3 separate regions of the Homo sapiens genome follow, and all the other regions are linked to region 1. The links are contacts of gene promoters, found by promoter capture Hi-C in blood cells and fetal thymus (Javierre and others, 2016). All regions are on one chromosome and are shown on one strand. The core of a region is centred on a gene start or on the middle of the fragment in contact, and the rest is flanking DNA. Distances in the headings are between cores, read along the strand shown. Region 1 holds the start of TAS2R46 (taste 2 receptor member 46). Region 2 holds the start of TAS2R9 (taste 2 receptor member 9). Region 3 holds the start of PRH2 (proline rich protein HaeIII subfamily 2).

Region 1 (5,067 bases), core at 1,508-4,007:
AATTCACAATAGAAAAAAATACATATTCAAATAGACCAAGGTTGTTTATACGCTTTCTAAAAATATTGTAATAGGCGCCATCTAATTTTGATGTTCTACCTTGTCTCCAATTCAGACACCTGATACAGTTGCATCAAGACTATATTATTGTCATATTTCCCCTAAAATTGTGGAATAGCCAAACTTTTCCTCTGCGGAAGGATTCTGCTTGGATAAGCCTGTAACCTTAACCTGAGAACAGAACAGGGGAATTCATGCAACTGCAGATTTTGTGATGAGTTTCCCTTTCATTGGTTTACCACATCAGCTTACCCATTTTATCCACCCATTTATTTGTTCATTAAAATATCATTTTTGACCATCTATTCTTGTTGCTGGGTTCTAGGTCCTGGGAGTCAACAGAAAGCAAGAAAGAGATGAGATCATCTTGCTCTCTGATCTTACATTCAACAGAAAGCAAGACAGAGATGAGATCATCTCTGATCTGATTTTACAGTTCTTACATTGTACTGAGGAAGATACATGATTTTAAAAAAACACATAAATCACATGTGGGGATGATTTATCTTAAGGTTTAAATCACATTTTTAAAATTTCATAACACCAAAATTAATACAGTCATGTAGAATTTAGCTGTGAACAAGACTGTACATTTCCATCTCATAATAGAACTTCCTATTAATGAATATGTCAACCACTTTCATTTCATCATTGACAACAAAATTATAACTGTAAAGCACATTCTATAATTAAAACATAGATTTCATAGATGCCATTTTAACATTTACAAAAATTTCATTGATTTATTTTCCATAATTTCTATACTATTTTTACATTGATAGTTTTTTTTTAGAATAAGGAAGATTTGGGTTCTGTTACCTGAAGTTTAGAAGGAATTTTATAAATGGAAGGTAAGGGTATAATTAACAATTCAGGGGCTTAAAAGTGCTTTAGAAAAAAATACTAAAATAGTTTACATCACCTCTCAACTTCAAAAAAAAAGCTTTTCTTTAATCCAAAAGCTGGAAGAAATGACTTTTCTAACTACATATGGAAACTGATAATAGCAATCAAGATCACAATCATGATTTTTCATCCCTATTATAGAAGAGATTGTTTTCTAAGCTATTCACATGCTTGTATTAAATCTAATATTCCTCAGAACTGTTTATGGTAGACATAGTTGAAACTTACTCTACATATGCTTGTCACTCAAATTTTATTGTGTGCATTGTTTTCTATCAATAATTCTGATTGCTTTTTACTAAACATAAAATAGGAATTCATAATGGAATAAAACCTCAAAGACACATCCTTATTATTGATTTAGAATTGAATGACCTTACCATCCAAAAAGTTACAGGTTCAAACAATGAATTCGAAGCACACTGTGGTATATTTGTGTGGTTCAAATAACAATAGAAAACAGCAATGTCTTTCCTGAGATAAGCTGATAGTTCTTAATAATTATAAATATAGATCATAAATTATTCAAATGAAATATAAAATACATAAATGAAATAGGTATGGATTCATAATTCTTAAGAATTTTTGTCATATTTTGTATAATTTGGCAGTTTGTGTGAAAAAACAAAAAAGAGTATGTCACTGTCAATGTTCTTTTGTTTTTCATACAAACATACACACAAAAATACATATATATACATACGCACTTTTTTAGACTAACGTTAGGTAAAAGACTTTTCTAGGTACATGCTTGAAAGTTATTCATATACATACATTACAGAAAACACAGTAAGAAATATAAAATGCTTCATATAACACGTTTGTTTTCTGCTAGAAGATACACAATGCTGCTCTTGTGAATCTATGAAGATGAAGGCTTCTCTCCTTTCACCCAGTACCTCACATGCCACAAAACTGAAAGAAAAGTCTGCTTTAGCTTCTTGTTTCCCCAAATCAGGATGAATGGGTGGGTTGAAGGATAGCTGAATGCAATAGCTTCGCAGAACATGAAGACAGGTTTGTTTTCCAGACTCTCAAAACTCCAAACTGACATGATTATGGACAGAAAGTAAATGGCACATAACAAGAGGAAGGAGGTCACAGTTTGCAAAGCTTTTATGTGGACCTTCATGCTGGGATCTTGAGATCCTTTGCCATGGAGCTGCATCTTTTTGAGATGTTTACACAGAGAACAGATTAACAGCAGAAAAGATATCAGGGTCAGAGTGAAGGGAACTAAGTTTGCTAGGATGGTTACCGTTGTATTTGAAAGGTACATTGCACTCCTCAGTTTGATCTTCCAAGTCATGTTTCCTTCATATTCTTTTGTCCATATAATCTGATTCATGTTTATCACAAAAAGATGACAAACCAAAAATAGCAAAGGCCCCAATAGTATCACCAGAACAACACTCTTAACTCTCCTCTTTAAGTGAAGAAAAATAAGGTTGGAGAAATTGGCAATCTTGAGCAAATAAAATATGCTGAGGCTAGTAGCAAGCCAGTTGCTGAAATGGTTGATTACTGCCCAGACATTGTAAGCAGTAATTCTTACTTCTATACTGTTAAAAGCTGGATTCAACTCAGTTGCATACCAATTTAATACTAATACCCAGAGTAAACCAACTCTGGAGACTGCCAGAGCAGTGAGAATTTGGTCAGCAAAAGAGATCTTTTGTCTCTTGAACCACTCAATGGAATTTACCAATGCTATGAAGCCATTAGCAAAATTTCCAATCACAAATGTAACCACTATTAGAATGGAAAAAATGATGGGCAGAAAAGTTATCATGTCTGAACAGACAAAAAGAAATTTTTAAAATGCTGGTGTAATATCACTGGTTGTGATTGCTTGAATATCCTGACCTTAAATTCTATATGCACCTGATTTGTGTATGTGCTGTGACATTCTTTTTACTTTTAATTGCTGTGACCAGTGTCAAGCCAGAAATCACCATGGCATGCTAATGGGTAAGTTCAACGCTCTCTTTATGGAAAATATTCTTATTTTCAAAACAACTCAAATTAACCCATTCATTCACTGTCTGTCCTTGTTATAGGCTGGAATTATTCATACTGAAGTTGACATGAAACCTGAATTCTCATTTGCTAGTATGCAAACAAGGACATATTCACTTTCAGTGTTTGCAATTTTTCCTTGTGTAACCTCTCCATCATTTGTCTTTAGTGACTTCAGTTGTTAGGGAAGTTTTATAACCCAATACAGAGATCATATAGTAAATGTCTAAATTCTTAAAAGGAGCTTGGTCATAATTAAGTTCATCACCTATATGGACTTTTTTAAATGACAGATTTAAATACACAGAATCCAAACTGCTTTTATCAAAAATATCTAAGATTTTCTGGAGAACCTCAGAATCTGGTTGCTGCTAATACGTTTGTATAACTTCATTATTCACAAGCTCATAAATACACACACAAACACACACATGTGCACACCACTCACGAATGGAACAAATTATTTTCTCATCAGTTCCAAAATAAAAAAAGGAGTTTCCAGGAGGTTGTCTAGGTGAAGTTAGTCCTATTTTCCCACTCAGGGCTTTCAGCTCATGAATAATATTTATTTATCAAACATATCTCTAATTCTTAGGCCTTTGGTAAAGTTTCTCTCAAGACTAATGTTTAAATATTTATTACTATACAAAACATTTAGCAATTGTATAAGAATTCCTGAGTACCCAACCCTTTGATATATAGTCTTGCAGTATCCTGCCATCACTGAGAAGGCTGACTACCTTGCCCCTGAACTTGGAGTACAACCATTTAACTTGCTTTGATAAACAGAAAATTACTACACTTTGCATAGAGATTTCAGATGGCTTCCATAATGGGGATTCTTCCTCTTTCCATTTACCATGAGAATATCACCTGGCTAGTACACTGTTCCCAGAAGGAGAGTGAGAAACTAATGAAGTCAGATTGCCCCCACCTGATCCAGACCAAATTGGCCAAACTCTAACTACTACCAAGATTCAGAATTTGGTCCATTTCAAATAAACAGAGCCATCCACCAAACCCAGCTTAAAAAAAATGAAATCCAACAACATGTGAGATATAAACATCTAATGTAGTTTGGAGGGTTTTTCTCTTGCAGAAAAACATAACTGATAAATCAACTCTGCTAAACCAAGAGTGTGGGAAATATGTACAACCTTGTTGTGTCAGGAATTCAGGAGCCAAAAGCAAAAACAGATGGGAAATTGCAAAGGTTTGTTCTTGTGAGGTCGATAATTAAGGCTAGAAGAAATCCATTGGAAAGTTCTGGGGTTGGAGGATAACATCATCTCAAATTTCCTCACGTTGCAACTAAATAAGAAAGTGCTCACTTCAACTCCCTTAGAGTTGTATAACAATGTATACAAATAGTTTATTATTGCCATCAGTATATAATGAGATGAATAATAATAATTTCTATGAGACATATCTCCTAATTAAACATTTTACATTAAAATTATAATGCACACTTAGAAATGAACCAAAACAAAAATGGGAAATACCGCAGTGTATCATAAACATTCAAGTAACCATGATGCAGGCAAGACAAGGAACACCAAACACAACCTAGGTCCACCTCCATGCCACTTTCCAAGTCCCTAAACATTTCTTCATACCTCCTGAGATAAGCAATATCCAAAATTTATGGTGATTATTTCCTTAATTTTCTTTACACTTTACCAACTAGGTATGCAACCCTAAACTCCATCGCTTGGTCTGGCCTGCTTTGCACTGCGTGTAGGTGCAATCCTACATGTTCTTCTTGTTTGTGGCTTCTTGGACTCAACATTGTGTTTCTGAAATTTAGTCACATAGTTGCAAGTACATGTGATTTTTTTTCACTTCTCTATACTGTTCCATTGTGTGGATTTACTGTAATGATTGATCTATCCTTAATATATATTTGGCCAGCTTCTTTTTTGAACAGTTACGAATAATTCTACTAGAGCATTCTTTCATATATCATTTGATGCAATTCCTCTGTATATATACCTTTGAGTAGAATTACAGGGTCATTGTGCAAAATATCCTCATAGACATAGAAAAGTTTAAAAGATAATTTAACTAAATGTACTCCTGTCA
Region 2 (5,067 bases), core at 888-3,387, 250 kb before region 1:
GTCTCAAAATAATAATAATAATTTTTTTTTTTTACATACCAGTATTTCCAAGGAATAGGACTAATTCTACTATTAAATTAGATTTATTTGTTTTGGGGTAAGGGAAAGTACAACTTAGCCCAAAATACATTTGAATGTAGGTAATACAAATCACAATACCCTAGGGCTTCTTGTATTTAAATAGTTCTACAATGTATACAACACATGCAGGATTTTTTCTATTTCTTACATGTGTGTAATGTGTAACAGGAAAGCATAAACTTAATAACTTAAAGAAACCTAGTTATCTATAAACTACTGCTGGAAACAAAATAGAAAAGAAAATGATGCAGAGGGAAAAAAATATGTCAGAGATTTCTGAGTTAGAAGGCTAGAGAGAACATTCCAGGGAATCTTTGGGAAATGACTTCTAAAATTGCCATCACCAGCTAGAGTACTCATGAACACGCTGACTACTGGGACCCTCAACCTTCTTTCTCAAGGTGGTTCTGCTATACATAACTGTGCCTCCTCTCTCTGTCAAACTTTCATTCTTGAGATTATACTCCTTTTCCCACATCATATATCATCTTAGATAGAATCTCATTAAAGATTGTTTTTCTCCCTTCTTGATCAAGACAAACCCTTCCAGAAATGGAGAGGAAAGGGCGGTGAAGATAAGGACCGGCCTTCATTTCAAAGTAGAGAGTTGTTTTGCATGATTGATTTTATAGCAAGGGTTGATGAGTTCTAAAATCTTTTCCCCAAAGCCTGTTTGCCTGACATTCTTCTACTCATTGAGTTCAAGGCCTTTGCCAGTATTTGTCAGAAAAGAAGTAGAACCTCTTTGTATTTAGTCAATGACATAAAATGATGAAATGTTAGTGTGGGATTTAGATGCATTTTTTTTTTCTGCAACGACAAAGAATATACGGTGCAATGATAACATTAGATTATCCATTAAACAAGACAAAAGTGTGAAGGAACACAAAACAAATCTTCAGAATCATGACAGATATTAATGACTTCCAATAGCATATAAGAGAAAATGAATGCAAACAAGAGAAGGGAGAATGCCTTTTGTTGATTTCTTTCATCCTTGTAGTCAGGATACTCTTTAGGGGTCTCTATGGAACAAAAGGCTTTCTTCTTCTAAGGAAACACTTCACAAATCTTAACATCTTCAGAAAAGCTTCCCTCAACTTGCTATTTCCCATAATTAGAATGAATGAATGGCTTGATGGGAAAATGACAGTTACTATGTCACCAATCATCAACACTAATTTTCCCTGAGGAATCAGAGCGCTAGAGGTCATAACAAGAAAGACTGGGTAGTACACGATGAGGAGGAGCAGAAAGATGATCACTGCCTTTATGGCCCTCATGTGGGCCTCTGTACTGGGGTCTCTGAACCCTGTAGCATGCAGTCGAATCTGCTTGGTGTGTCTAACTAGGGAGAAAAGTAACAAGAAAAATGAGATCAGGCAAAGGATAAAGGGAACCATCACCCCCAGGTTCAGGGTTAACTGTTTGAAAGTACCTGGAATTTTACTCACTTTGAATTTCCAAGTAATGTTTTCTTCATGACTGACTTTGAAAAGGTGATACCACATATCATCATTCTTTGGAACACTAATAATTAAAGAGATAAGAAAGGACCCCAGAAGAATCGCAAGCATGACCTTGTTGATCTTTAGCTTCAGCCAGAAGAAAAATGGGTGCGATATATTGGCTATCTTGAGTAAATAGAAGATACTGAGGCAAGAAGTAAACCAGAGACTTGAATTATTGGCAAATGTCCAGACAACATTCACAATGCTTACTAGCACGCTATTGCCATATGTACCTGGAAAGAGCAGCATAAAGAAGCCATCTAATGATATTACACACAGCAGACAGATTCTGGAGATGGCCAAGCTGATCAGGATGATGTCAATCAAGGAAATATCTCTTCTTTTGAGCCAGTCAATGCAGTTAACTAGTACAATGAATCCATTTCCCCAAATCCCTATGGTCAATTCACCAGCAATTAAAATAATATATATTGCCTCTATTGCACTTGGCATGCCAGCAAAGACTTGTGATTTTTGAATATCACTGATGATGAATTGACTTTCAGCTGACCAGTGAAGAACAATGTATCTGTCTGCCTCTTAGACCATGATATAGTTGTCTTTATCTCTCCTTTTTGTTAGCTGTGATGCAGATGAAGAAGATAGCCAGTCCTGCTCTGGGCTAGAGCTGCCTAAAGACTTCAATGATTGGGGCCAGTAATTTCCTTTGGTGCAGTGATGACTGAAAGCCTCTAGGATGCAAATGGGAATGGATCTGATTTCTTAAATTTGCACACTCTTTCTTATTTTAAGCTCTGTATATTTTGGATTTATCAATCTGAGCTGTTGACCAGGAACTTCAAGAAGGTATCAATTACTTGGAAAATATGGCTAGAATTTAATTTGCTGGATGACTATCCATCCTTGTTAGTATATTGACATAGTTATTGCTATTACAGATTCTAGGTTTACTGTGTTAGCTTGTGTGGCCAGTTTGCTTGCTTGGTTGACTAAAGCTTTAAACAAATTATTATTAACATTAAATGAGGCTTAAATGGCATAACTGGTGGAATGTAGAGGAAAGAATCTAAAGGTGTAGGAAGATAGGAGTATTAAGGTGAATTTATCATATGCGAACTTCACCTTCTCCCCATTATATGACTTAAGAGGGCCAAAAGGACACTCCATTCACTAGGGCATTGAGAAATACATTAATTAGGTAATTCCCAATATCCTCAAAAAGCTCTGCAGTGTTTGTCTTCTCAACTGAAGATACAATGAGGGAAATAAACATGACATTGTAGTGTTGTCAGCAAATGAGACACGGAAAATTCTGGTTTAGATGTTAGGGTTTCTTAGAGTGTTCTTGCTTTGTACCTGAATGTAGCTTCCATACATAGAAAAAATAGTCAAAATACTGGTCACTTATCTTTAGAATGGAAACAGATCAGCCTGAACAGTGAGGAGGACAAAGAGCAAGAAAGTGATATTTTTGGAACTAAAAAGCGTGATAGATATACAAGACTCTTCAGTCTGAACTGAGTGATAAGAATACATGCTCTGAATTTTCTTAGCTCTATTTTTTGGCAGCAGGTGTATTATAAATATTAGTATGCTAATTATACACACATTGGAAACACACTGTTTCATTGGGACATATTGAAACATGTCATTGGGCATAGTAGAACATATTTGAAATAATAGAAAAAGGCACACAGCAATACACAGTTCCCAGAAATATTATTTTGAAACTAATATTAAATTTTAAGGCAATATTAAATATTGCTTATCAAACAAACACAACAATACAAAGTATTTAATGAGATAATGTGTCATATGTTCAGGGTTTTAGACAAAATAAAGAGATAAAAATTAATCTTGCAGATTTTTATGAGAAAGTAAATAGCTATTGTTATTCTATTCAGTGAAATTTGGGGTTTCTTTCATGCTTCTCTGTGAATTTTGTTTCTGAAGAAATATCAGATTATACAACTCAAAAATACACACTGTGCTTGTCATGACCAAAGCCATAAAACAGGTAATATTCTGAGAAGGACTTCACTAGAGTAAAGAAATTGATTTGCATGCAACTGACAGACAAGGTCGCACCATGTTCACATCTCAGGGAATGCAATATTTCATTATTTTAATTAAACTTTTTGAAAGATAAAATTTTGTGGAGGGGAATAAAGTAGGTTCAAGGTTATTATTTGGAAATGGAACTACTCTGGGATCAATTTGTAATGTCCAGAAAAGATGAAGATGAAAATATATCATGTAGGAGGGTGATTAATAACTGACATATTAAAAATTCCTGGTAAATCCAGATATAGAATCCAAGCTTGCCTTCTGAATCATGGTCTTTCCCACTACCTCACTTCTTTTCCTTAGCCGTGTGGAATACTGATCAATTTAAGAAAGTTATGCCTATATTCAAATGTAAACGAAAATATGCTATAGGATATGACCAGAGTTACCTAAGGGCCTATACTTACTAAAATGCCACCCTCTTTTATCTTTCCTTGCTATAAATAAAACCCAAATGATCTCAATTTATTTGACACCGTTGAATATGTTTTTTTTGTGTGTATTGTGTGTGTGTGTGAGTTTATGTGTTATTTGCCCTTTGGATTTTATCTTAGCATTGAGAAGTTAAAGAGGGATCCTAGCTGACAGACTTTAACATCTATTTTCATTGCAGAAACACTTTAATCTAGAATGTTAGTTTATTGATTATTTCTGTCTCTACTAGAAAACAGATGAAATACTGGGAAACTTATGACATCATTTCCTGTATGTCTTTCTATGAGAAGTGAGCAAACACAAACCTACTTAGGCAGATATTTCTTAAATTTCATTTTCTTTCCTTTGTTTAAATACTTTTTACCATTCTTTAGAACCTTACATCTTTTACAGGCATTTGTCCTTGAGTTATGCCACTGATTATTACTGATCAAGAGAAATGACTATACTCTTCAGATTTATAAATCAAGAACAGGATACTGCGATACTGTCCTATTTTCTGACAACTTATATTTTGAATAGTTGCTGACTTTATCTCCTACCCCATTCTAAACTCTTCACTATATCCATTGGGATCCCTAGTAAACCATTAGCAGAAGCCATATATTCTCATTTGTTTCTCTAACAGTTCACTTTATTTTCTTCATTTGAACTCGAGGTTCTGGAACTTTTTTGTTCAATGGACTACTTTGCCAGTCTGGTGCATGCTATAATTTCAGAATAATGTTTTTAAGTGCATGAAATAAAAATATTTGAAATGTATAAGGAATCCATATATATATGCCTTTTTCTTGCAGTATGAAATATATTGTTAATATAATATAGGAATTTATGTGCTTTTTAATTGACATAACAAAAATATCTGGCAGATAAAGACTAGTGGTGAAAGTAAATGACAATAGGAGGTACCTGTAACGACAAAAATTTTTGGCTTCCTGAAGTGAAAAAATTACAGATACTGCTGGTATGGTATGTGCTTGTTACTTACATTCAAGACAGAAGAAATACTAGA
Region 3 (5,067 bases), core at 2,305-4,804, 130 kb before region 1:
TTTTCACCTCACCTGTTAAAGTCTTAGGAAAGCTTAACCTTGATAATCTCCTAATAACAGAACTTATGTTTCTTTTCTGAACCTCATTCCTTCTCATATTGTAATAATGAAATGAATAAATGAATAGCAAGTGAGTAGTGGTGCACACTAAACTCTGAGTACTGACTGCCTTCTATTCCACTTAATACCTTTATAAGAACATTGTTATGTACCTAAGTCATGTCATCTATAAAACTAAGGTAATGATAACAATCATATGTCCCTAATATAATGGTTTTGATGATTAAGTGGAACATAGTAAATGTTTAAAAATGTTTTCTATTATAACCAATTTGGCTAGGATAGGTGGAAAGAATAGAAATATGATAATTAATTGTGAAATGTATAATATATATTAATAGGTCATCAACATCAAATTAAAAAATATAGATGATTACCATGATAGTGAAACCAAAGTTTTTAGACAAGTCAAAGCAAAGTTGAAGTCTCAGAGACCATTGTGTTTATTTGCTAACTGTATTATCAGACTGCTTAGTTGATACAGTGAATACAATAATTCTTCCAATGTACATAAACTGCCAGACAAGCAACTCAATGCAATTCACTCACTCTCGGAGAAGTTTATCCCCTCTGCCAATGTTCATCTTTCCTGGCAAACCATCCTTCAGTATTCCAGGCAAACTAGAGCAAGGTGAAGTTGAAGAAGATCCTACTTTATATTCCATTCAGAGAGCTTCCGGGTCTTCAAAAAAGATTTAGTCATGTGGGTGTGAAAGAGCTGAGTCATGAAATTTGGACCTTATTGTAAGTCCAGAAGGAAAAACAAGGGGTTTGAAGCACAAGGGTGATATGATCTAATTTCTACTTTTAAATGATCACTCTGATTGTCGTGAGGGAACTGATATGGGATGTACTGGGGGAAGAATGTTACCAGGACCAGGTCGAGGCTGTTAAAGACCTCCAGGAGAGAGCATTGTGGGCCGAACAACAAGCTTCTAGTAAAGATCATGCAAGTGGACACATTTGAGATGTATTTTGAAGGTGGAAGAAATTAGATAAGCTAATGGGTAGTGCCTGGAGGGAGTGAGGATTTTTGAACCACTAGGTAAACACCTGTGAGTAACAGAGAAAAAGTTGGGATGTGTTATGAAAGATGAATCCTAAAATTTCATATGTTGAAGACTGATGCTTCAGGACCTCAGAATGTGAACATCCATAGTAGAAGGGAATTGTGTTGTTGACGGCTGCCACCCACTCTAGGTGCCCAAGCTCCTGCAGCAGTCCTACTTCTCCCTTTCACCCACACTCACTCCCAGACAGTGTCCCTTTCAGCTCTTCCATCACCCCTTCTTTTGATTTGGCTGGTGAGAGCATAGCTGGTATTTATACTTTCTTGATATGCTAGTCTCTTTTGCTGATTGTTGACATTGGAGAAGGTCATGGAAGGGACCTGAGCTGAGCGACCTTTAGGAGCATTTCCTGTTCTTTTCCTGTACTCTGCTGCCAAGGAGAAATCTGTCTTTCACCAGGCTTGCAGCTTTCTCCGTTACCCACATCATCAGGCAATATCTGTCTGGCACCCCTCTTTGTTCCCTTTCTCTGGCCTTCCTTTTTGACATGATGGTTGACCTGAAATCACCAAGGCAGGACTGCTCATCTCCAGGTCTAATGGAAAACAGTATCTGGTGAAACCAAAGAAAATAATCCCAGTAACCCACTGGGAGCTGCTTGGCTTAAGCACCTACCCTGTGCCTAAGATACAACCCATCAAGCCCAGCTAAAACTGATCCAGTTTCCACAGGGCCAGAGAAGAATTGCCAATTAAGAATGCATTCCCACTTCAAATATGTCTATATTTATTTCAGGGAAAATATCAGTCTGCCTGGGTCCCTTATGAGAACATTGTTGTCTGTAGAAAAATCTAATCTATTAGGAAGCCTTCTTGTTTTGTTATCTGCAACTCTTCAGAAGGGCCAGACCAGACCCTCGTATGCACAGTACAGGATCCACCCATGCACATCTGTCTAGGGCCTTGTCTTTATGATTTTCTGTCACATGGCCTCTCAGCCATGCCTCCAACCAAGCTATCCTCAAATAAACACTAGCCGTGCACAAAAAGTGAAAAATTACACAAGGCCTACACAAGGTCTGAAATGGAAAGTGCAGCTGGTGATACCGAGTAGTATATTTTATGAATTGAGGAACAGGGAATTTCTAGGTATCACAGAGCAATCAGCAGCTGAGAAGAGGAGTACCAATCCAGGACCCTGGAAGGATTTTTCAGAAACTTAATAGTTTATTGTCCAATTGTAGAGACAAAAATGAAAATAAAGATAGTGAGGAGTACCATACACCATTGCTTAGAAGATTAAATAAATGTCATCTCCCACAAGTCATGTGGGGAGAAAAAAACTATATAGGAAGAAAATTACAAACGACAAGGTAGTCTCAGCATATAAAATATCAACAAATGAATGTAAGAAAGAGAATGAGAAAGAATTAGTATTAGAATATCATAGAAAAAATCATCTTTGTGAAAGAAAACTCTGATGAAACTGGTGACATAAATACTGAGTAAAAAACAGAAGACCAATCAAGGCATTTGAGGCTTGAACAGGCATTACAAATCATCAAGTTGAATATATAAGTATGGCCACTTAGTTATTAGTGGTGAAGACTACGGTATTTGTTAGAAGAAATAAAGTAGATGATGAATTCTATAGAATATTCTGGAGAAAGTGGAGGTCTTAGCTACATGACATCGTGTGGCTCACTTTGGGAACCATGTTTCAGTTTGTTTAGGTCTAGAAATTCCTTGGTGGTTTCTGTGTTCAGTTTTGCTTTAATAATCCCTAAAGATATTTTTTAAAATACAAATTTTTTAGCTTTCCTGTATTGTACAGCACCAACGCTTGCCTGAGTGTAGTGAGATTCACAGAGTTTGGAAATTTCCTGTAGCATGAGGAGGCTGCGGGGCAGCCTTCTGTCATCTATGTGTACCCAGCAGTGTGCTGTCCTCACACAACTCACGGATAAGCAGAAAGCATCTCTATTACATGAAAAATTTAGCTAAATATACAAATATCCATGCACACACATCATGAGAGATGGAAATAGGCTATCAAAAGAGTCAGACATATTGACCGTCTTCACTGTTAGCTGTAGGATTGCTGCCCAACCCCCTGACACACCCACACAAACTCACATACACACAAATGAAAAGCACAGTGGAAAGCAGAATAGCAGTCTTTCCAAACAGATTGAAAAACAAATGATGTCTAAAGTTCAATCCTGACACTGTGCTGATTGCTTGGACACAGTTCCGTCAAAACATTTGTCCAAGTCATAGTTGTACCTTTTAGAAATTAGCCACAAACAACATCCTCCCCAACCCTTCCTGCTAGGCTAGAGTCCCAGAAGAAATGAGGGATACACTTGACCTGAAGTAAGCAAAGCAGAACCCAGTCTCTGAGGCGAGGAGGCCCACCTGGTAGGGAGCTCAAATGCGCCATTGTCCTGCTTGTCTTTATAAAGGGAGCTGACACGTTTCTCCCAGCATAAAGTTGGGAGTGACACCAGAGCCTTCTGCAAGATGCTTCTGATTCTGCTGTCAGTGGCCCTGCTGGCCTTCAGCTCAGCTCAGGACTTAGATGAAGGTAAGCCGAATTGGGGGAAGATATTGTGACTCTGATTGGGGTTTACGGGCGAATGCTATAGAGGGGGAAAGTGGAGGGAAGAGAGGAGGATGAGAAAACAGATAGGACTGAAGAGTTCTCATGCCAAGGATCAGAAGACCTGTTGTGCCTTCATTCCTCATCAAGACCTCATAATTTATTGATTGCACAAATAGAACCCAATAAAGAATTTGTACCGGGGGAGTGAGAGAGTGAGATTTGCATTTATAGAGACATGGGACTGCTGGGAAGGATATGGAGAATGCAAGACAGATTCAGGGAAGTGCAGCTGTGAAGATCCTATACTGATCCCAGTAGACAGGGATGATGGTGGCCTTGCTGGACAGTGGATGAGTATCCATGAAGGAGATAAACACATGTCAGAGCTATTGCTGAGGCAGAGAATTGGGTAAACACTTGCCTCTGTCTACATAGAGTTAGAGAATCACCAGAGTGAAATATTGTCATTTTTTTCTCTCCTGCATGTAGTATTTTAATGTGCTGGGACGGGCATTTGTAAGATTGTATCTAAGTGGCTATGTCTGGTGGCTCCTGTTGAGAAAGCTTGCAAACATAAACAACATATTTACAGATGAAAGAGGGCAGAAGGATCCCCAAATATTTCATTGAAATACTCAAGAGCCCTTTAACTAAATAAGCACTAAGGCTTAAGGAATCATGAGAGGACAAACAGGGGCCCTTCTATGTTGAGTTCCTGGTTGACGCTCAGTGTAGTAACAATCCTGCTTTCCCTTACATCTTCTTCCACTTCCGGTAGCATCAGAGAGTGGCTGATGAGATCTCAAAGGGGATGCACAGGGTGTGATCAGAGGTCCTTTATCCTCGTAGAACACTATGAGCTCTGAATGATTCATGCAGTAACTTTTCCCATCATCCTGTACTTCTTTTCTAGATGTCAGCCAAGAAGACGTTCCCTTGGTAATATCAGGTAAATCCCAATAAATTCTCAGTAAACTCTGTCTCCATTTTTCCCTGAAAAATTGATCAGTTCTCCAGTGTCTTCTTATCATCCTTGTCAGGAATTGGCTAATATCAGTGCCCCAGAGATATAAACAGTTTTCTCCCAACCTTGATTCTGGGGACCATGAGTAAAGAAATTTGATTTTTCACCACCCTAATGTGGATTAAGAGGAGTTCTAATTAGGAAGCCTTGGGAAGGGGGGAGGTTGGGAGTTGAGAGGCAGGTCAGGGAGAGAGGGGCCGGCCGTGTGGTGAAGACAGAGAGATATGAAGACAGGAGGGTTTTCCAGCATGAGCTCAGCTCTTCTTGTTTCAACTCACACAGATGGAGGAGACTCTGAGCAGTTCATAGATGAGGAGCGTCAGGGACCACCTTTGGGAGGACAGCAATCTCAACCCTCTGCTGGTGATG

Evidence for each region. Contacts are between HindIII fragments. The CHiCAGO score rates a contact against its expected background, and 5 or more counts as called.
Region 2: a contact is called between the fragment with the promoter of TAS2R9 here and the fragment with the promoter of TAS2R46 in region 1, in 4 of 17 cell types (total CD4 T cells, naive CD8 T cells, naive B cells and 1 more). The highest score is 7.2, in total CD4 T cells.
Region 3: the fragment with the promoter of PRH2 here is called in contact with the fragment with the promoter of TAS2R46 in region 1 in 2 of 17 cell types (activated CD4 T cells and non-activated CD4 T cells); the score reaches 5.8 in activated CD4 T cells.

Annotation. Positions count from the first base shown.
Region 1 is chr12:11,059,537-11,064,603 of GRCh38, forward strand. TAS2R46 (taste 2 receptor member 46) reads right to left here and starts at 2,758. Exons shown (of 1, transcript NM_176887.2): 1 at 1,829-2,758. The coding sequence starts at 2,758. The coding sequence ends at 1,829. All of the region lies in intron 1 of PRH1-TAS2R14 (PRH1-TAS2R14 readthrough), which reads right to left. The region is part of intron 1 of PRH1-PRR4 (PRH1-PRR4 readthrough); the gene reads right to left. It also overlaps a transcript of PRH1 not described here. The HindIII fragment of the contact is 4,910 bases long and covers 2,078-5,067 here.
Region 2 is chr12:10,808,031-10,813,097 of GRCh38, forward strand. It overlaps TAS2R9 (taste 2 receptor member 9), which reads right to left and starts at 2,138. Exons shown (of 1, transcript NM_023917.2): 1 at 1,064-2,138. The coding sequence starts at 2,045. The coding sequence ends at 1,107. The HindIII fragment of the contact is 1,377 bases long and covers 1,170-2,546 here.
Region 3 is chr12:10,925,682-10,930,748 of GRCh38, forward strand. PRH2 (proline rich protein HaeIII subfamily 2) reads left to right here and starts at 3,555. Exons shown (of 4, transcript NM_001110213.1): 1 at 3,555-3,656; 2 at 4,588-4,623; 3 at 4,981-5,067. The coding sequence starts at 3,593. The region is part of intron 4 of PRH1-PRR4 (PRH1-PRR4 readthrough); the gene reads right to left. It also overlaps a transcript of PRH1 not described here. The HindIII fragment of the contact is 3,246 bases long and covers 991-4,236 here.